Linked DNA regions of Homo sapiens: region 1 is linked to region 2. Evidence: promoter capture Hi-C in 16 types of primary human blood cells and fetal thymus (Javierre and others, 2016). All regions are on one chromosome and are shown on one strand. The core of a region is centred on a gene start or on the middle of the fragment in contact, and the rest is flanking DNA. Distances in the headings are between cores, read along the strand shown.

Evidence for each region. The method cuts DNA at HindIII sites, captures the fragments that hold promoters and counts their contacts. A CHiCAGO score of 5 or more calls a contact.
Region 1: a contact is called between a fragment that was not itself captured here and the fragment with the promoter of CMPK1 in region 2, in 1 of 17 cell types (fetal thymus). The highest score is 5.1, in fetal thymus.

The regions. Positions count from the first base shown.
Region 1 is chr1:46,595,251-46,598,623 of GRCh38, forward strand. The region is part of intron 1 of MKNK1 (MAPK interacting serine/threonine kinase 1); the gene reads right to left. Among named protein-coding and RNA genes, the nearest start is that of MKNK1, 7.3 kb to the right of the region's middle. The HindIII fragment of the contact is 1,327 bases long and covers 920-2,246 here.
Region 2 is chr1:47,332,021-47,335,151 of GRCh38, forward strand. CMPK1 (cytidine/uridine monophosphate kinase 1) reads left to right here and starts at 1,770. Exons shown (of 6, transcript NM_016308.3): 1 at 1,770-2,096. The coding sequence starts at 1,926. RefSeq lists a silencer at 1,683-2,322 and enhancers at 1,709-2,512, 2,513-3,131, 2,833-2,892. The HindIII fragment of the contact is 8,075 bases long and covers 1-2,677 here.

The DNA.
Region 1 (3,373 bases), core at 333-2,832, 740 kb before region 2:
AATAAATATGCATTTCCCCTTTTCTCGGTGGAAAAGCCCTGAAAATGCAGTTTAACTCTGAATTCTGAGCCAAAATTTCTAAAAAGGCTTTCTAACTGGAAGTTGGGTGTGTTTCACCATGACCTCAAACCACATGCCCCAAGTGGGACTTGTGCCCAACCCCCACCCACTGCCTCCTTCCTCTGACTTCTCTTCTTCCCTATCAGATCACGTCATCCTGCCAGTTATTCCTCAAAGGCAAGCACTTACCTTTTTCATCTTTGCATTACCAGCATCTAACATAGTATCTGGCAAAAATGGGCTCTAGTGAATCTGAATGAATTACTTAATACACGAAATATCTCTTTAACATCCAATAAAGATGTTAGCACATTGGACAGTCCTTCCTACTATGCTCTTTATTCCCAAACAAATCTGAAACCCAGTAAAACTGTTTCCAGGGCCTAAGGAAACTCAGGGTATGCTCTCTTTCTTCACTTCTACTACCACACTTCCAGGGACAGCCTTGAACACCATCCAACGACAGGATCTGGCTCCATTAGCCAGGCTGGAGTGCAGTGGCATGATCTTGGCTCACTGCAGCCTCCACCTGCCAGGCTCAAGTGATCCTCCCACCTCAGCCTCCCAAGTAGCTGAAACTACAGGCACGAGCCACCACGCCTAATTTTTGTATTTTTTGTAGACACAGGGTCTCACCATGTTGCCCAGGCTGGTATTGAGCTCCTGAGCTCACGTGATTTGCCTGTCTCAGCCTCCCAAAGTGCTGGGATTATGGGCGTGAGCCACCACGCCTGGCCTTGAGCTTCCATTCTGTCTTTAGTCTTGTCATAGGTTTAGACCCCCACCTGGTCCCTTCTTGTTACCTATGGTAGGAGTTGGCAATTTTTTTTCTGTAAAGTGCCAGATGGTAAATATTTTAAGCTTTGTGTGTCACATGATCTTTGTTATGACTCAATTTTGCATTTGTAGAGAGAAAGCAGTAGACAATATGTAAATCAATGATTGTAGCTATATGTCAATAAAACTTTATTTTTGGACACTGAAATTTAAATTTCATAGATTTTCATGTGTCATAAAATATTGATCTTTTCTTGATTTCTCCCCAACCACATAAAAATGTAAAAAGTACATTAGTTTGCATCCACACTAAAACAGGCAGTGAGTCAAATATGGCCTGTGGGCCATACTTTGCCAACCCTTGGCCTACAGTAGAAAAAAAACCCCTCAGAATTCCTTATGGGCTTTGTGTTATTTTGCCACGTGGAGCCACCTTAGGCTGGGGAAGTAGAAAGCACAGGGCTTTTGGGCATTAGGTCCTAGGTTCCAGTTCTGGCCCTACCATCTACCAGCCGGGTAGCCTTGGACATAAAATTCAAACTCTCTGAGCTTTACTACCATCATCTATAAAATGGGGCAATAACACCTAGATCACAGAGTTGTCATGGCAATTAAGTGAGCTAATGTATATAGAGCTCGTGGCACCAGTATCTGGCATACAGTAGGCACTCAATAGTAACTCTTATTCCAGCTTCTGACATGGCTTCTCCAGATCAACTGCAGCTCTGGAAAGCAACCCAGCCAATCTGTGAACCACAGTTGGCCGCAGGAGGGAATAAACTGACAGCAAATACAAAGGCAGAGAGAGAATGTGGAGGTTTTCAGATACATGTCACAGGATTCTAAGTGCCTGGTTAGCCCTAATTCCTTCTGGCACCATTTAAAATTCCTCTGGTCCCTTTTTCCTCCTCAAAAATTACTTCTGACTCTCACAGTTCTTAAAGATTCTTAGCATTCTTTACCAACTACCCAGATGGACCCTGGAGCCCTCTCCTCATTCCTGTACCTCCTGCTGGTATAGGGCTGGGGTGGGGAAGGGTGACCATGGCCAGACCAAACCTACACAGATCCATCGGCCTGCAGCTGGGTCTTAAGTAGGCTGGGCCTGGCGAGGCACCCAATTCTCTCTCAATTGTTCATGAATTTCTTGCTGTACTGGGAATTAAATTTCTTCAGTGCTTAAGAACTAGACCTTCTACAGACGTTTTAGAGCAAAAAAAAAAAAAAAAATCACCATGTATACAAACAAAAGATCCATCACATTACTTTCAAGACAGAAAACATCAGTGAGGCACAGGTAAGGCTAAGGTTTATGGCATCTCTACCCTTGGTCCAAAAAGCCAGATCTCGACCTGTTACTTCCTTGCTCTAAAACTTCTAATGGGTGTCCACTGCCTCTGGAGTAACCAAGCTTCTGTGCTGTCACTCACGGCCTCCATCAACTTGTCCCAGACCAACCCTCTATGGGAGTCTTAACCTGCAGTCTCGTCAAAAGGGACTGTATTTCCACCTGATTGCTCTAACCAATTCCCAGCTTCCTACACTTGTGCATAATTAAATTACCTGTAACATTTTATTACGCATCTTCCCCTAGACTGTTAGCCAGGGACAGGGTAGAGACTATGTCTCCTTCATCTCTGGGACCCCTACACCTAGCAGAGGCTCTGGTATGGGGCAACCACTTCATAATTGTTAATGAATGGATGGAAACAGCTGAAGTTATTCTTCCCTTAAGCTGTTTTAGCTGGACTCTTATTAGAAGACCGAGTACAGTCTGGGTCACTGCCACAAAGCAGAAAAACCGAAGAGAAAGAAAAGAGGCATGACCAATGTGATCCAAGCAATGGAAAACAGGTTTTAAGAGTGAGGTTAAAGAGACCAAGGCTGTTTAGCCGGGAGAAGAGAAGATGAGGTTTAACTGGATTCTGGCTTTAAGTACAGAAAAGGTTCTCATGAGAAAATCTTGATCTCATCCTCCCTTTAAAATCAGAAGAAACTTTTCCATATTCATGGAAAATGGAACAAGAAGAAATGGCTTAAGTTAAGGCCTGAAGGGTTTAAGCTGGACAGAAAGAAGAACCAAATTAGGCACCACTTTTCCAGAGATACTGTTATTGTACTTTTGGCAAGTGAATTGGAGGAGTCTTGCTTGGCACTCTTGTTGAAGGCTGTGAAAAAAGTAATATATGTGCTGCTCTGTTCCTGTTTACTGTGGAGAGAGGTGAAAACACAAGTCAGGTAAGATTTTCTAACGAGCCACTGATTTTTATTGACCCATTTCCTACAGGCACTTTCTGCCATGTTATGCATTGCAACCATGTGCTGGAACAATCTAGTATCTCAAAGGTTCCTGACAGGGCAATGGAAAGAAAGAGAAGGTAACAATGCGGGGGAAGGGAAAATGGCCCTAATAAATATACTTTCTATAAAAACAGTACCAAACTGGGCATTCATATATTTATTAATATTATTACTATTAAAGCTCACATTCATTGAGCACCTACTGTGTGCCAGGCACTGTGCTGTTGTATCTCAA
Region 2 (3,131 bases), core at 520-3,019:
GGGTAGGAAGGATGGGAATAAGTAAAAACAACAACAACAAAAAGAAAGCAAGGAGAGAGAGTAGAGATGGGGAAGAGCCAGAAAATGCTGAGTGAGCTAAGAAAGGACCACCAAAAGAAAAAGGAGAATGGGGGTGGTCAGACAGAGGGCTATACCACTATCTTCCTCTCCTGTTTGCTTTCGTTTACTAACGTCCTGGTCACTCTGCCCTAAACAGCTTAGTTCCTTTCCCATAGTCTTTGTTCACTCCAGCACTATCTGACTTGAACTTGTACCTGTACGACAAATCTAACACCCTGGACTCTTAGTTCTAAAAACAGGACATGCATTCTGCCTCAGTCTTCCATTCCCATGGTCTCACCCTGGACCTTGGCATCATCAGAAACTCAGAAGCTGGGACATTTCAATTCCAAATATCCCACTCAGACCAGCAGCATCCATACTGCCAGAGCACTTGCTCATATACCCCACTGCAATCTTTCTTGGGCCAATGCTCTAAGACATTGGTCCCTTTCCCCACCACCCTCCAACCCCTCCACTACCAGGCTTCATGTGCCATTATTTGCTTTCCTGTATGGTTTTGATTCTACACACAGCATCATGAACATTCTCTTCCAAACACTCTCATCACTTGGCCCCCTCTCTCTGTTGTACTTGCCAGGCAAAATCCCAACCCTCAGTAAATGCAACAAGCTGCCTTCTCTGCCTGTGCCTGAATGGCCAAACATCTTCAATTATTTTGAATCCGTTACCTCAAATATCAAATGAGCTCTTAACGTTGGCCAGAAGGCCTTTTAAAGGCCTGTATGCACCAAGGCTCAGTTCTTGAACGTCTCCTTTTCTTCTCCCTTAAGATTCTTCCCTAATGAAGGGGGCAGGCGAACGGAGTTAAAGGGCTTCCATTGCTGTTAGAATACAGCCCAAATTCCTTTCCATAATCAAAAGTCCTGATCTGCCACCGACCTCACTTTCTCAACTTTTCACCTTCCATTCTCCCCTCATTTGACTCAGCCCTGGTCTCACTGTCACTGGCCTTTTTTCCTTTTTTTTTTTTGAAGCAGTCTCATTGTCACCTAGGCAGGAGTGCAGTGGTGCTATTACGGCTCCTAGGCTCAAGTGAACATCCCAGTAGCTGGGATCACAGGCACGGGTCACGGTGCCCGGCTTTTAAATTTTTGGTCGAGACGGGGTCTCGTCATGTTGTCCAGGCTGGTCTCGAACTCCTGGGCTCAAGCCATCCTCCTGCCTCAGCCTCCCAAAATGCTGGGATTACAGGCGTGAGCCACCGCGCCCAGCCAGGCCTTCCTTCAATTGCTTTAACATGCCAAACCAACTTAGATTTTTTGCACATGCTTTTCTCTGTGGGACACTCTATCCTGGTGTTTGCCTGGTTTCGCTCTTTTCTATCCTTTTGTCTTGGCTTGAATGTCACCTCTTCTGAAGCCTTCTCTGGCGACCCTGGCCATCTTATGTCCTACTTGTTATTTCTTCAAAATCGTACTGCCTTTTGTATGTACTGGTGTTTACTCATTCACACTGGCTACCTCCCCATACCTCACTGGCTGGAATGGAAACTCATTGCGAGCAGAGACAATAGGTTTTGCTCTCCCGCGGATCACGTCCCAGCCTCCAGCTCAGCACCAGACACTTGAGGGCGCAGGATAAAATATCTGCAGTCAGAAAGCACTAATAACCACCCAAGGGTTGGAGGAAAGCTGGCGCGGACCGCACGAGTGTCGCCGAGACGCCGCCGCCGTGCGAAGCTCCTCCCCTTCCGACAGGGCCGCGGACGCCCGGGCAGCCACGGCGGCGGGGCCGCGGCGGGCGCCGGCTCAGCCCGCCCCTTTCTCCCGCCGCCTCCCCGCCCCGCCCCGCGCCGCGCCGGCCGCTGTCAGCTCCCTCAGCGTCCGGCCGAGGCGCGGTGTATGCTGAGCCGCTGCCGCAGCGGGCTGCTCCACGTCCTGGGCCTTAGCTTCCTGCTGCAGACCCGCCGGCCGATTCTCCTCTGCTCTCCACGTCTCATGAAGCCGCTGGTCGTGTTCGTCCTCGGCGGCCCCGGCGCCGGCAAGGGGACCCAGTGCGCCCGCATCGTCGAGGTGAGGCCCGGGCAGCAGGCGGGCTCCTTGGGGCTTGACGGGATGCGGGCCGGCCTGTCCCGCCGCCCCTAGTCCGCGCCCCGCGGAGTCGCCGAGCCGCAGACTACGAGTCCCGGCGGCCACCGCGCCGCCCGCGTGGCAGTGGCCGAGGGCCGCCGGCGCGCGGCGTGCCGGGACTTGTAGTCCGCGCCCGCCCGCCTTGGGGGCCACCGCTTGAGGTCGCTTTGTTCCTGCGCCCCTTCTTTTCTTACATTTTGGGGACCAGATTCGTCTCTAGAGTGGGCTGGGAGAGGGATCCCGGAGGCCAACCTTTGGGGGTCCCCCAGCGCGCAGAGGTTAGCGTGTCGCTGATCGTGTGGCAGGTGAAGGCAGCAGGAGCGCGGATTTGGGTTAGAGGCCGTGTGCGCCCACAGTTGTCTGAAGGAGAGACCTATTTTTCTTCTCCGCGCCTTCCCTCTGGTTCCCTAAACTCCGCACTGTCACCGAACGTGTCTTTACTCTAGAAAGGAGGCCCGTGGGGCGGGGTGTTATTTTAGGCGTGCTGTGGGCTGCCGCTGGCACTCTCGAGCCCCGTCCCCGCAAGCTTTAGGGCGGAGCCAGCCCTGAGGCTCGGCCCGGGTCGGGGATGGGGAAAGCCGGGAGTGCTGTTCTGAGATCAAGCTTCAACCTTTGGCCCTGCTGCCAACTCACGCTCGGCCCTCGGTCACTTCCTGTCTCCCAGCCTCAGTTAGCCCTTGTAATACAGTAAAAAGAGTCTCTGAACCCAGATTTTCTCAGGATATAAAACACCTCCCAAATGTAAAATGCTGTTACTTTTTTTTCTTTTGCTTTGAGACAGGTTACCAGTTCAATTCTTTTAACAATTTTTGAGCTAGATGTATGGTTGGTTAGCTGCATTGACACTGTGGGAAAAAAAGGCTTCATGGACAATCTGGGGAATGCTTGGGAAAGAAGGAAAACAGGATATCTAGAAACAGAAGAGGCGACCATTGGTGGCCTCTAGTGAAATCACTCTGAAACCCTGTAACCAACAAA